Linked DNA regions of Homo sapiens: region 2 is linked to region 1. The links are contacts of gene promoters, found by promoter capture Hi-C in blood cells and fetal thymus (Javierre and others, 2016). All regions are on one chromosome and are shown on one strand. The core of a region is centred on a gene start or on the middle of the fragment in contact, and the rest is flanking DNA. Distances in the headings are between cores, read along the strand shown.

The links. The method cuts DNA at HindIII sites, captures the fragments that hold promoters and counts their contacts. A CHiCAGO score of 5 or more calls a contact.
Region 2: a fragment that was not itself captured here is called in contact with the fragment with the promoter of SERINC5 in region 1 in 1 of 17 cell types (activated CD4 T cells); the score reaches 7.3 in activated CD4 T cells.

What each region holds. Positions count from the first base shown.
Region 1 is chr5:80,252,646-80,258,871 of GRCh38, reverse strand. SERINC5 (serine incorporator 5) reads left to right here and starts at 2,824. Exons shown (of 12, transcript NM_001174072.3): 1 at 2,824-2,976. The coding sequence starts at 2,950. RefSeq lists enhancers at 1-790, 791-1,724, 1,725-2,658 and silencers at 2,512-2,951, 3,062-3,341. The HindIII fragment of the contact is 9,277 bases long and covers 2,298-6,226 here.
Region 2 is chr5:81,005,111-81,010,978 of GRCh38, reverse strand. All of the region lies in intron 1 of RASGRF2 (Ras protein specific guanine nucleotide releasing factor 2), which reads right to left. Among named protein-coding and RNA genes, the nearest start is that of RASGRF2-AS1, 47 kb to the right of the region's middle. The HindIII fragment of the contact is 2,869 bases long and covers 1,636-4,504 here.

The DNA.
Region 1 (6,226 bases), core at 1,575-4,074:
GTATTTTTAGTAGAGATGGGGTTGCACCATGTTGGTCAGGCTGGTCTCAAACTCCTGACCTCGTGATCCGCCCACCTCGGCCTCCCAAAGTGCTGGGATTACAGGCATGAGCCACCACGCCTGGCCGACATAAGACAGATTAACAGAAGAAAAACCGTTTTAATTACCTGCATACGCAGCAGCACAGGAATCTCACAAAACATGAAGGGCCAGATGATTGAAGCTTATAGCATTCTGAGCTAGAAATAAATAAGGGCTTGGGGCTTCTGTGGGGACAGTGGGGAGGCACCACAGGTAGGATATAGGAGGGTTAGTGGAGGAAATGTATGGTAAATAATGTTGCCTTGTGGCTGCGCGCGGTGGCTCACACCTGTAATCCCAGCACTTTGGGAGGCCGAGGTGGGCGGATCACGAGGTCAGGAGTTCGAGACCAGCCTGACCAACATGGTGAAACCCCGTCTCTACTAAAAATACAAAAATTACCCGGGCGCGGTGGCGCGCGCCTGTAATCCCGGCTACTTCAGAGGCTGAGGCCGGAGAATCGCTTGAACCCGGGGGGCGGAGGTTGCAGTGAGCCGGGATCATGCCAATGCACTCCAGCCTGGGCGACTGAGCGAGACTCTGCCTCAAAAAAAAAAAAAAAAAAAAAAAAAAAAGTTGCCTTGTTATGTAAAGTCTCTCATGTAATAAAAGTTCTCTGAGCAGCTGCCTTCCTGACACAGATACTTTTACTATGTGGACTTCCTTTATAGATGTAAATTTGCTTTACAAAAGGACAGCTTTTCAGAGCTACTCCCGTGTCTGCAGTTTCTCAGAATAACCAGCTTGAAATGTGCCAAACAAGTGTATTTTGGGATAGCATATTTTGGTATTCTACAGTCATAATTTGGGGTGCTGTGGCCTGAGCCTCAGCAGCAAAAAGAGGACATGATTCAGGGTTCGGAGCGCTGGATTCTATTACCAGCTCTGCCCCCTAACCCAGTGGTCTCTTGTGAAAGGTCCTCGAGTTCCGAGTCGAGTCAATTTCCCTAAAAGGCAAAGAGGCATCGGAGTTCCAGCTGGCTTAAACATTTGTAGATTTCGCGCCTTCCCTTTTCGCCCCTCCTTCCTCTCCACCCGTCTCCCCACCCCGAGCTACTAGGGGGCCTGCCCATTTCCCCAGGCCAGGAGTAGGGCTGAAGTGAAGTGACCGCGGTCGTAGCCAACAGCGAAGCTCATTAGAAAGTCCTGGTGAGAGCCTCAGCTTCTGATGAGTCACAGATCGCCACGGAGCAGGTTGCTGCGCTTGACTGATTGGGTTTACCCTATTTTTGTTTTGAGTTAGAGCCAACTGTCCTCATTCCTTTTCGTGGCTCTGAGTAGGGCCTGCTCCATTATATCTCTTTCTCTAAACGCCTGCATCTGAGATGCTGGAAAATCCTGCGCAGCTCATAACCCAAGGCCTGGTTTCCATTCACCTTTCCTCTTCTACTCCTAAGCTGCCCAAGACACTCCTTTGCCAGAGCTCTGTCTGGAAACGAGTCCCTCTAAGGTCAAGCCTTGCGTCATGTGCCAGGGGATCAGACGAGTGGATTCCAGGCCCAGTTTTACTTCCTCAACTTTGCTGTGAGGCTTTGGGCAAGTTATTTAACCTCTCTGGGCTTCAGTTGCCTCACCGCTAAAATGGGTACGGTAATGCTTATTTGAAAGAGCAAAGGGATTGGCGCAAAAATCGCACTAACAGAAATATCTTCATTCCGGCAGGGCGCGGTGGCTCACGCCTGTAATCCCAGCACTTTGGGAGGCCGAGGCGGGCGGATCACCTGAGGTCAGGAGTTCGAGACCAGCCTGGCCAAGATGGTGAAACCCCGTCTCTACTAAAAATACAAAAAATTAGCCGGGCGTGGTGGCAGGCGCCTGTAATCCCAGCTACTCGGGAGGCAGAGGTTGCAGTGAGCCGAGATCGCGTCACTGCACTCCAGCCTGGGCGACAGAGTGAAGCTCCGTCTCAGAGAAAAAAAAGAAAAAAAAAAAAGAAATACCTTCATTCCTCTTGGGGAGGTGGCTGTGAGGACAGCAGATCTGAGTGGGAGAAAACCTAGAGACGGCCTCCCTGCCTTCTGTATGGAACAAGCAATTATTGGGCACCCTCTTTTTAGTGAGGAAGCAGGGACGGAAAATGAGTCCTTGGGCCAGCGCAGGAGGAGAGGCTGGAAAACATATCAATATTCAGGAAGGCACGGAAAGGGCTCTCAATGGATCTCTCACCAAGTGCCATCAGGGCAGAACAGTCAAGGGCCCAGGGATTCGAGGAAGCTTGGGAGGCGCGGAGAGCCCAAAAGTTGAAAGTTTTCTTGGCAGATGAGGGAAGGAAAGGGATTTCAGGAACAAGGATCTCGTGGGTGGGCTGTCCCAGTCGGCGCGCGGCAGAGCGCAGACCAGCACCCGGCGGTCTGGTCTGTGCAGGAAAGGCAGGAACCGCTTACTAAGGCTCCAACCTTTTAGAGGCAGCAACAAGCTCTTTCTCTGGATCCGAAGGCGGAGAGGCGCTGCGCTCTCATTTGGCGAGGGCCCGAGCGCGGCCAGACCGCGCACCAGACCCGGAGCGTGGGGCCCAAAGGCTGGCGGCCGACTCCGGAGCTCGGCGCCCCAACCGGGAAGTGATCGCAGCAGCCCACCCGCCTGACGCCAGCGGAAGTGCGAGCCCGGGTCGAGCCTGCTCCGCCGCCGGGCGCCCGGGAAGGGGCGGGCACGGGGCGGGGCTGGGGGCGGGCGAGGCGGGGCCGGCGGCGGGGCGGGGCTTGGCCGCAGTTGTTTTTACCCAGGCCTCGGCGCCTAGGCGCTTCGCCGAGGCTGATCTTCGTTCAAGTGTGAGCTGCGGCTGAGCCCAGCGCTCGAGGCGCGAGGCAGCCAGGAGGGCCCGTGCGGCGCGGGGAGCCAGCGAGCGCGCCTTCGGCATTGGCCGCCGCGATGTCAGCTCAGTGCTGTGCGGGCCAGGTGAGCGAGGCCGGGCGCAGCGCGGGGGTTGTCAGATCGGAGAACCGGGCCAGGAGTCCAGGCGTGGAGGACCTGCCTGGGTGCGCTCCCAGCTCCGCGGCCGAACGTAGGGCCCGGGTGGGTCGCTCGGGCTGGCCCCGCGGCGCTCAGCCGTCCGGGAAATCCTGTGCCCTGGGCGGGCGGGAAGGGGCAGGGGGAAGCCCGAGAGGCTACCCCGGGGTCTTCCCGTCCGGCCTCCGGGACTCCGCGTGGAGCGGGGCGTGCCGGGCTCGGGCGGAGGATCCCGACTGCTCCAGGGGCGTGTCGCCTCTTGCGCCGAGCACTGGTGAATAGCGCTGAGCTCCGTAGCCCTCTCCACTCTGCTTGTCGGATGAATCCAGGAAGAAAAGTGGGTTTAGGCACCGTCTCCTTTGCTATGCCCTGAATAAAACTCGGGTCAAACAACCCAGGCAGGTTGCGCTTGGCATCTCGTAGTCGAGCGTGGGCTCTGTACCTTTGAGAATGTCTCGAAGCCTGACTTCCAAACTACCGGGCGCAGGTCTGGGCGAAGGGAAAACTCAGCCCTGCTTCCTGAATTTCCCGACCCAACCCTGGCTCGGTACTAGCACGACTGCCTGGGTAGGGCTGGAACCTTCCTGCCTCTCTTTGCAAATAAACTTGTTCGAACCTGTTTTTTAACTCTCGCCTATTTAAACCTATGATGTCTTAAAACATTATGTCTCCTACCAGTTACTGCATCAGTGTAGAATTAGTACGTCTTAGCCCTGTAATGCTGGTTTCACTCCTTCCTGCAGAGTTAGAAAAAACGAAGTAGGTGAGTCTCTTGGATGTGGAGCTCTTTTCTCCCTTTACATGTGGATTATCAGCGTTTCGGTACAGAGTTTTAATGGAGTGTTTTCACGAACGAATCAGACTCTAGGGAGCATCCTGGTTCGGGGTGTTCTTGCTGACACTCAGCCTTTCCACAATCGAGGCCAGCTGTAAGTGATGGAGTGGTTAAACTGTGGGTTTCTGTAACCGGCGATTATACTGGCAGATAATCTGTCCTGTTTAGAGTGGCCACGTGGAGCTGTCTTGGTTTTTGAGGTCTAATACTGTGCTTGGCATACATTAAAGCTGGCCTTTTCAGAGTTGAGGAAATTGAGGCTTTTGACGACTGAGACGAAATGATTTTTTTTCCCTGTGTCAGGCAGAGAGAGAAAGAGAATGAGAATGGTCACCACCTTACCAGGTATTTGAGAACAAGGTGGACCAGGAAAGACTGTTTTCAGAAAGCTCTGCAAATCTTTTATTCCCGTTTTGAAATACTTTTTCTCCAATATGATGCGACACTTTTTATTACGTAGTAATGATACAGCTCTTTAGGGGCATCTGTCCTGGTCCCTTGAAGTCCCCTTGAGGCTCTTTCTGCCATTCCCAAGTTCCTAATTTAGAGCTCTGTAATTACCAGTATTCAAATGGGTTTTGTAAAAGAATTATTTTGCTGTTGATGTTTTAGCAGGTTTCTAAAGTCTCCCCTCTTAGGACTTTGGAAAGAACCAAATCAAAGTTAACCCCTGCTTTCCCAGGCCTGCTGGAGGCATCACTGTGGTGGGCCTCAGTGCTGTGTGATGGTGATCACACTGTGATTTCCTGTGGATGGGGCGGTAGGAAGTTAAAAGAAAAGCAAACAGGCTGGGCGCAGTGGCTCATGCCTGTAATCCCAGCACTTTGGGAGGCAGAGGCGGGCGGATCACCTGAGATCAGGAGTTGGAGACCAGCCTGACCAACGTGGAGAAACCTCATCTCTACTAAAAACACAAAATTGCCGGGTGTGATGACGCATGCCTGTAATCCCAGCTACACAGCTAAGGCAGGAGAATCGCTTGAACCCAGAGGCAGAGGTTGTGGTGAGCTGAGATCACGCCATTGCACTCAAGCCTGGGCAATGAGCAAAAAGAGCAAAACTCCATCTCAAAAGAAAGGAAAGCAAACAAAACCTCACAGCACCGTCAGAAGTTACCAATTCTTGTTTGTTTCTGTGGGCACCTGCCTTTTGCCAGGAGCCTGCTATATAGTCATAAGTCAGACAAGCATCTCTGCTCTCAATGGCCTATCTGGGCAGGGGAGATCATTCATAAACATGTAAACAATGAAACAATGAATATGGTACTGGTACTGTCAGAAGGCCGTGTGGTAAGCAGCCTTGAGGAGGGTTGCCGAGGGAGTCTGAGAAGATGCCTGTGGAGTTGAGACTGCTCAGTGAGGAGAGGCAAGGGAGTCTAGGGTGGCTGGGGTGTCTTAGATGAGGTCAGAGAGAAGAGCAGGACCAGAAATGGCCAGAACCTGTCAGCTGCCTTTGGACTTTGGATTTAATTCTGGTTGCAGTGAGAGGCTGTGGGAGGATTCTGAGCAGGGGCGAGCTGTGGTTTGATTTGCACTTAGAAGATAATTGGGATGTCGTGAAGACTGGACTGTAACGGGCTAGAGTGGAGGTGAGGAAAGCAGTTCGAGTTGGTCATGAAGCAGTTGGTGAGGAAAACCTAAGTGGATATTTGCCTCTTAGGGGCAAGCAGTGTTCTAGGCTTCGGCAGTGAACAAAAATCCTTTCCTGATGGAGCTCGAATCCTGGCAATCTGCTGTTGCTGTAGTCCCAGGAGGAGACAGCGTGGTACCTTAATTTAGGCTATGGCTGTAGGAGTGAGTACAGTGGGACATCATTGGCTTTGGGTATATTTCAGAGGTAGAACTGGATTTGAGCAAGGATTAGAAGTGGGATGTGGGAATGAGACAGGCTCGGTTTCTGGCCTGAGCCACTGGGTAGATGATGATCGCATTACTGAGGTGAAGTAGGAAATTGTTAGGAAGAGGACATTTGGTGAGGAAAACCCAAGTTTCTTGGCTTCGTTACATTAGAGATGCCTATTATAAATTTAATGGAAATGGCAAGTCACCAATTAGGTATTTAGGTCGGGAGAAGTTTGAGGTCGGAGAGAGACATTTTGGTGACTTTCTTTAACTGCGGACCATCCTGAACAATATGTAACCCATAAAAGAGCCTGGGCTTTGGACTCAGGCCTGGGTTTCAATTTGGAAATCTGGACAATGAGGACTGGTGTGACTGGATGAGTTACTTACCCTCTATGACCTCATTTTACCTCAACTATTGAATGGGTACTTCTTAGGGTTATTGGGAAAATTACATGTGATGATAAGTGTAAAGTCTGTAATATAGGATTTGGCAGAGTGTGAGGAACCCCCCAAATCTTAT
Region 2 (5,868 bases), core at 1,821-4,320, 750 kb before region 1:
TTAAAACATACAAACGCAATGCTGCAACATAGCAATGTGAAAAAGAGAGCTATTTGGTATGCATTTATTTAGAAGTAGAAAAATATACAATGAGTTACTGGAAACATTTATGTAAATAAAAGAACATGAAGCACATCTGGTGGACATGTCTGGCTATTAAAAACCACAGGCGCAGGATTAGGAAGGGCACTTACCATGTTGCCTGAATGTGACTACTAATGATGGTTTTGCTGGGCCTCTTTCCCTAAGAAGACTTTTAATATTAAAAATACATTTTCACCTCATTTGCTGATAGCTGAAAGCTTACAGCTGTCAGACTTTTAGAAGAAAATGACAGTCTCAAATCACCCAAAATCAGAATGGCTAAGAATACCAAACTTCGGTGCTGGAAAAGAAAATTGGCACTTGCTCATGTGCACTACCTAGAACTTTACATTTTTGCTGCTTCTCCAAAAATCTTCAAAAAGCAAAACTTCTCTCGAACTCTCCAGAGTAATGCGTTTTTCATTGAGCTCACACCACACTCTTCTCATACATAACAAATAATTCAGTTCTGTGCCTTACACATTTGGCCTTTTTTCATTGTAAAAATACAAGCCAAATACCATGGCTTCTGTCCACCATCTATGCACATTATTTCCCTCTTAAGAAAAAGTTTGAGTTTTTCGTCCGTGAAAATAATACACATATATAAATACGGAAAATACAGAGAGGCAAAATTAGAGAGGAAAATTCATTCATAATCCTACCATCATCCAAAGACAACCACTGTTAAATCTTGATGTATAGCTCTCAAATCTATTTTCTTTTTCTTTTTTTTTTTTTGAGATGAAATCTCACTCTGTCACTCAGGCTGGAGTACAGTGGCACGATCTCAGCTCACTGCAACCTACCTCCAGGATTCAAGCAATTCTCCTGCCTCAGCTTCCCGAGTAGCTGGAACTACAGGCACCCAACCCCATGCCCGGCTAATTTTTGCATTTTCATAGAAACGAGGTTTCACCATATTGGCCAGGCTGCTCTCGAACTCCTGACCTTGTGATCCGCCCGCCTCTGCCTCCCAAAGTGCTGGGATTACAGGTGTGAGCCACCGCACCCGGCCTCTCCAATCTATTTTCTAAAACCATTTTAATACAGTCATGCTCATGCTGCATATGCAATGCTATTCCAGCATAGTTTTCAGGTCACATGATAACTTAAGAATTTTTCCATATTACTTAAAACTGTAGTAAACGTTTATAAAGTGTACATAATGTTACACAGAAATGATATACTACTTAAATATTTACTTAAATTACATTTGCCTATTTTAACATTTGGAAGGTTTTTAATTATTCCTTATAAATCTTGGTATATACAATTTTTTATTTGACTTTTGGGTTACTCCATTGGTGGAGATTCTCAAGAACAGATGAAAGACATGAATAACTTGGTTTATGGAAGTTTGTTTTTAGACTTGCTTTAGGGATATTTGCTCCTCATGTTTGCCAAGTCTGATGTGATGCTCCATCTGACAGACATGATAATAAGCTACTGAACAACACTCACATCACAATTTTAGCGACTGAGTGGCCCCATATGTGATGCTATATCTGGACATTCTAGGCAGTTGATGGCTCCTACCCTCTAGAAGCTTACATCTGCTCTCAGGGTATAAGGGAAGTTCACTAACCTGGGCAGTATATGATGATATTCATTAACTGCCTATCTAGGCATGAAAATGGTTACATATCCACTCAGTGCTTAATATATGGCAGGCATTGTTCTGAGATCCATCCTGCATTTTCTCATCGAGTTCTCGTCATGAGCCCATAATTTATTCCCCTTTTACAGATGAGGAAACAGGCTGAAAGAGGCAGGACAATCACCCACAACCCATCAGGGCATGTGCTCTCAGCTGCAGGCCCAGGGGTAGTAGTGGACTCCCACTGGTCTGCCACACTCTGTTGTGAGTCTCTGTTGTGAAAGCTATCTATGTGGCAAAGCCAACCAGATCATGAGTCCAAAACCCAGGACTCTGACTTGAAGTTCTACTTGCTGAGACAATCAACCACAAAAGGATGGATCACACGGAAAGGAAGAAATAGATGGGCTGGAGCCTGTATAGATAAGAAGTATGTCCAGAAAATAAATTTCCAAAAAATCATCAAGTCTACAAAATTCTATTCTGCCCTTGAATTTTATAATGGTTCTAGATGCCACCCTAGCCATTTCTGTTCTCATTTCTAATATTAAATCAGCAGCCTAAGAGACAGGAGGTGCTACAAAAGGGAGAGGAAGGAGGGAGGGAAGAAGAGAAGGAAGAGGGGAGGAATCCATTTTATCCATTATTTTATCAACCATCTTATTTTTGAAAGTGTCATGCTGGTATGTATTTTATAGACACACATATACTGATCTTAAGAAGATTACAGTTTAGCTGAAAAGCTAAATTAGGCACTCATAAAGCAATTAAATAACATTATAAGATTAAGTAACAGTGCAAGATGTGTCAAAGTGCTAAAATAAGCTGTATGAAAACTGAAACCAGCCAGGCACGGTGGCTCATGCCTGTAATCCCAGCACTTTGGGAGGCTGAAGCAGGTGGATCACTGGAGGTCACGAGTTTGAGACCAGCCTGACCAACAGGGTGAAACCTCGTCTCTATTAAAAATACAAAAATTAGCCGGGCGTGGTGACACATGCCTGTAATCCCAGCTACTGGGGAGGCTGAGGCAGGAGAATTGCTTGAACCCGGGAGGAGGAGGTTGCAGTGAGCCGAGATTGTGCCACTGCACTCCAGCCTGGGCGAAGAAGCGAGACTCTGTCTCAAAAAAAAAAAAAAAAAAAAAAAAAAAAAGGAAAGAAAGAAAGAAAAAGAAAACTGAAACCATCATCATCCACTTTTTCCAATTACTACACATTTGAGATAGCTGGTTCTGTAAATCAGACGAGACAGTGCAATTTTGGCCTATCAGAAAGTGTTTACCATAGATGAAGACAATAAATACTATTGCTGGATGGTCCTGGGAAGCTGAGGGTATTGGAACCCTTCCATAACTGCCATGGCCAAGGGATGAGGATGCTTCCATTGCTTTTCCTGTTCACGTCTCTCTCTTCAGTTCACCCCCTCCCAAATGAGAAGCTGCATCGGATCTGCTTGCTCAGCATTTTGCATTTACTAGGTGACTCCTCCATGGATGAGGTCACTCCTTTGAAGAACAATACATGGTTATCCTTCTGTCTCAGTTGCACCTGCGATTAGGTGAGCAAGTCAAGCAGTTATCGTGGAGGGGCAGCTGATCTGAATAGTTCACTTTCCTCGTCCTAAATCAGCCTTCAATATTTACCATAAATGCAAGGACCACCCTGAGAAAGTTGAGTTTGTTGGCGTGAATTTTTCTTAATGGAAAAAAGAAAGCGAGGGAGTATATGGCCAACTAACCCTCACCATGAAGGAAAAAATGACATCCCGGGGCAGCTGACAATAGGGCTCTCTAAACACTTGGTGCCAGTGTGGAGGTGTTCTGGCCTCAAGGCAGCTCCAGGGAGAGGGTCCCTGGGAAAGAATGAACCCCTTCCTCAGGGCAGAAGAGCCTGCTTCACTGCACAGAGTGGTCTCTCAGGAGCTAGAAAAGTTAATGAAGTTGCTGAGCTTGAAAACCAGAAAGTAGGCAAAAAGAAAAACAAGTTCAACCTTCCTCCAACACAGGAAATAATTTGAAACCACAATCAGAAACTTTTTGAGCATTATGAAAGTGTAGAGGCCAAGGGAAAACTCCTCCCCTTCACCTTCTGCAGGTTTCCTGAAAGCTACACCCCCTCCCGAATGAGAAGCCACATCTAACAAAAGGAAGGTTAACAGGAGAAGAGGCATATACACATTTATAAATGTGTACGGAGGCAGGCGGATCACACAGTGATTACTCCACCACGCAATGAGGTACAGATGGTTAATGGTTATATACCCTTCTGAGGAGAAAGGGAGATGGGGAAGTGAGGCTTATTTTAGGGGGTTAGTAAACCATTTTTAGGAGAATGCCATGGACTCGAGGAACATACAATGGCCTGGGACAATGTCTCGTGGGCCCGCAGAACAGACAATGGTTTGTGACAAGTCTATAAAAGTGTGTTGATGGACTTGGAATCTTTCTTTCTGAGACATGTGTTCAGTTAATGAAAACTCAGGAAAGTGACCAGAAGTAATTGTTTTCTTCTTCAGCAGGTCTGGACTTTAGGCAGATAAGGGAACTTCAGAGAACAATTTTATCCTGTGCTTTGGGGCAGACGGAGAAGTGGGGAAAGGGGGATCCGAGAGGTCTCAAGGCTCCTTCCTCGGTTCAGCATGTCAAAGCACCATAGTTCGGGGCATCAGCTTCTGAACCCCAGCAAAGGGAATAAGCATTTTGATGGCTTCTAAATCACCAAAACACAGGAGGAAGAAGTGGGTTAGCTGCTCTGGGGTATGGAACTATTAGATTCTGACACACTTACAGCCTTATCTCTGCCTACTACATATGAAGCTTTCTACTGACTATTCTAGAAGGTAACATACTTTCAGAAACACCTTTGCACTTTCAAAACTATCATGGCTTTACCAAAACCACTTAACTCAAAAGACTTTTCACTTTCAAAGGTCCTTCAACCAAAGTTAGAAGCATATTAAGTGAAATCAAGACCAGTCTGAAGGGCAATCAAAACAGGATCCCCATAGAAAACTGTGCATTGAGCATGACTACAGCCCAATAAACAACTAAACAACCTAAAGGGGCAAATTCGACAGGAAATACACCGAAATATTAAAGTAGATGTCCTTGGGTAATACAAATTTGAGTAAGGTTGGTTCTATAGCCATACAATTTTTAAAGATTTATTTTTATTAAAAACACAAAACTTAATTAAATAAATAAATATTAAAGTCCAAGTTGTTTGAAATATTTCCCTTCATATCTTGAAAGCCTTTCAATCTCACTCAGGAAAACGTTTGAACTTGGAACATTTGAACTTGGAAGCGACCTTAAAGATTGTCCGATAAAACTACTTCATTCTACAGCTGAGGAAACAGAGTGAACTTCCAAACACATGGCCAGTCAGGCGCTGACCTGGAACTCTAATCAGCAATTCCTACCTCTGACTTAATGCCCTCTCTATCACAGACAGAGCCCACCTCACCAAGGAATACTCCCCTTCAATCTTCCAGATAGAAAGGAAAAAAAGTACTGCAAAATATGTCTCTCCACTCTTCAGTATGTACCCAAAAGAAATAAAATATATGTCTACTCAAAAATGTCTACACGAATGTTCACAGCAGCACTATTCATAGAAGTCAAATAGCAGAAACTACCCAAAAGTCCATCAGCTGAGGAATGGATAAACAAAATGTGGTATATCCATACAATGGGATTTTTTTTCTCCATGAAAAGGAGTGAAATACAAATATGCTACAATATGAATAAATCTTAAAAACACTGACTGATATGGTTTGGCTGTGCCCCCCACCCAAATCGTATCTTGAATTGCAGTTCCCATAATCCCCATGTGTTGTGGGTAGAACCTGGTGGGAGGTAATGGAATCATGGGAGCCATTACCCTCAAGCTGTCCTCGTGATAGTGAGTGCGTTCTCACGAGATCCGACGGTTTTATAAGGGGCTTTTCCCCACCTTCGCTCGCATTTCTTCTTCCTGCCAGCATGAAGAAGGACATGTTTGCTTCCCCTTCCGCCATGATTGTCGGTTTCCTGAGGCCTCCCCAGCCATGGTGAACTGTGAGTCAACTAAACCTCTTTCCCTTCTAAATTGCCCAGTCTCAGGTATGTCTTTATTAGCAGCGTGGGAATAGAATAATACACTAATGTTAAATGAAACCAGACACAAAGGACGGTATAATGT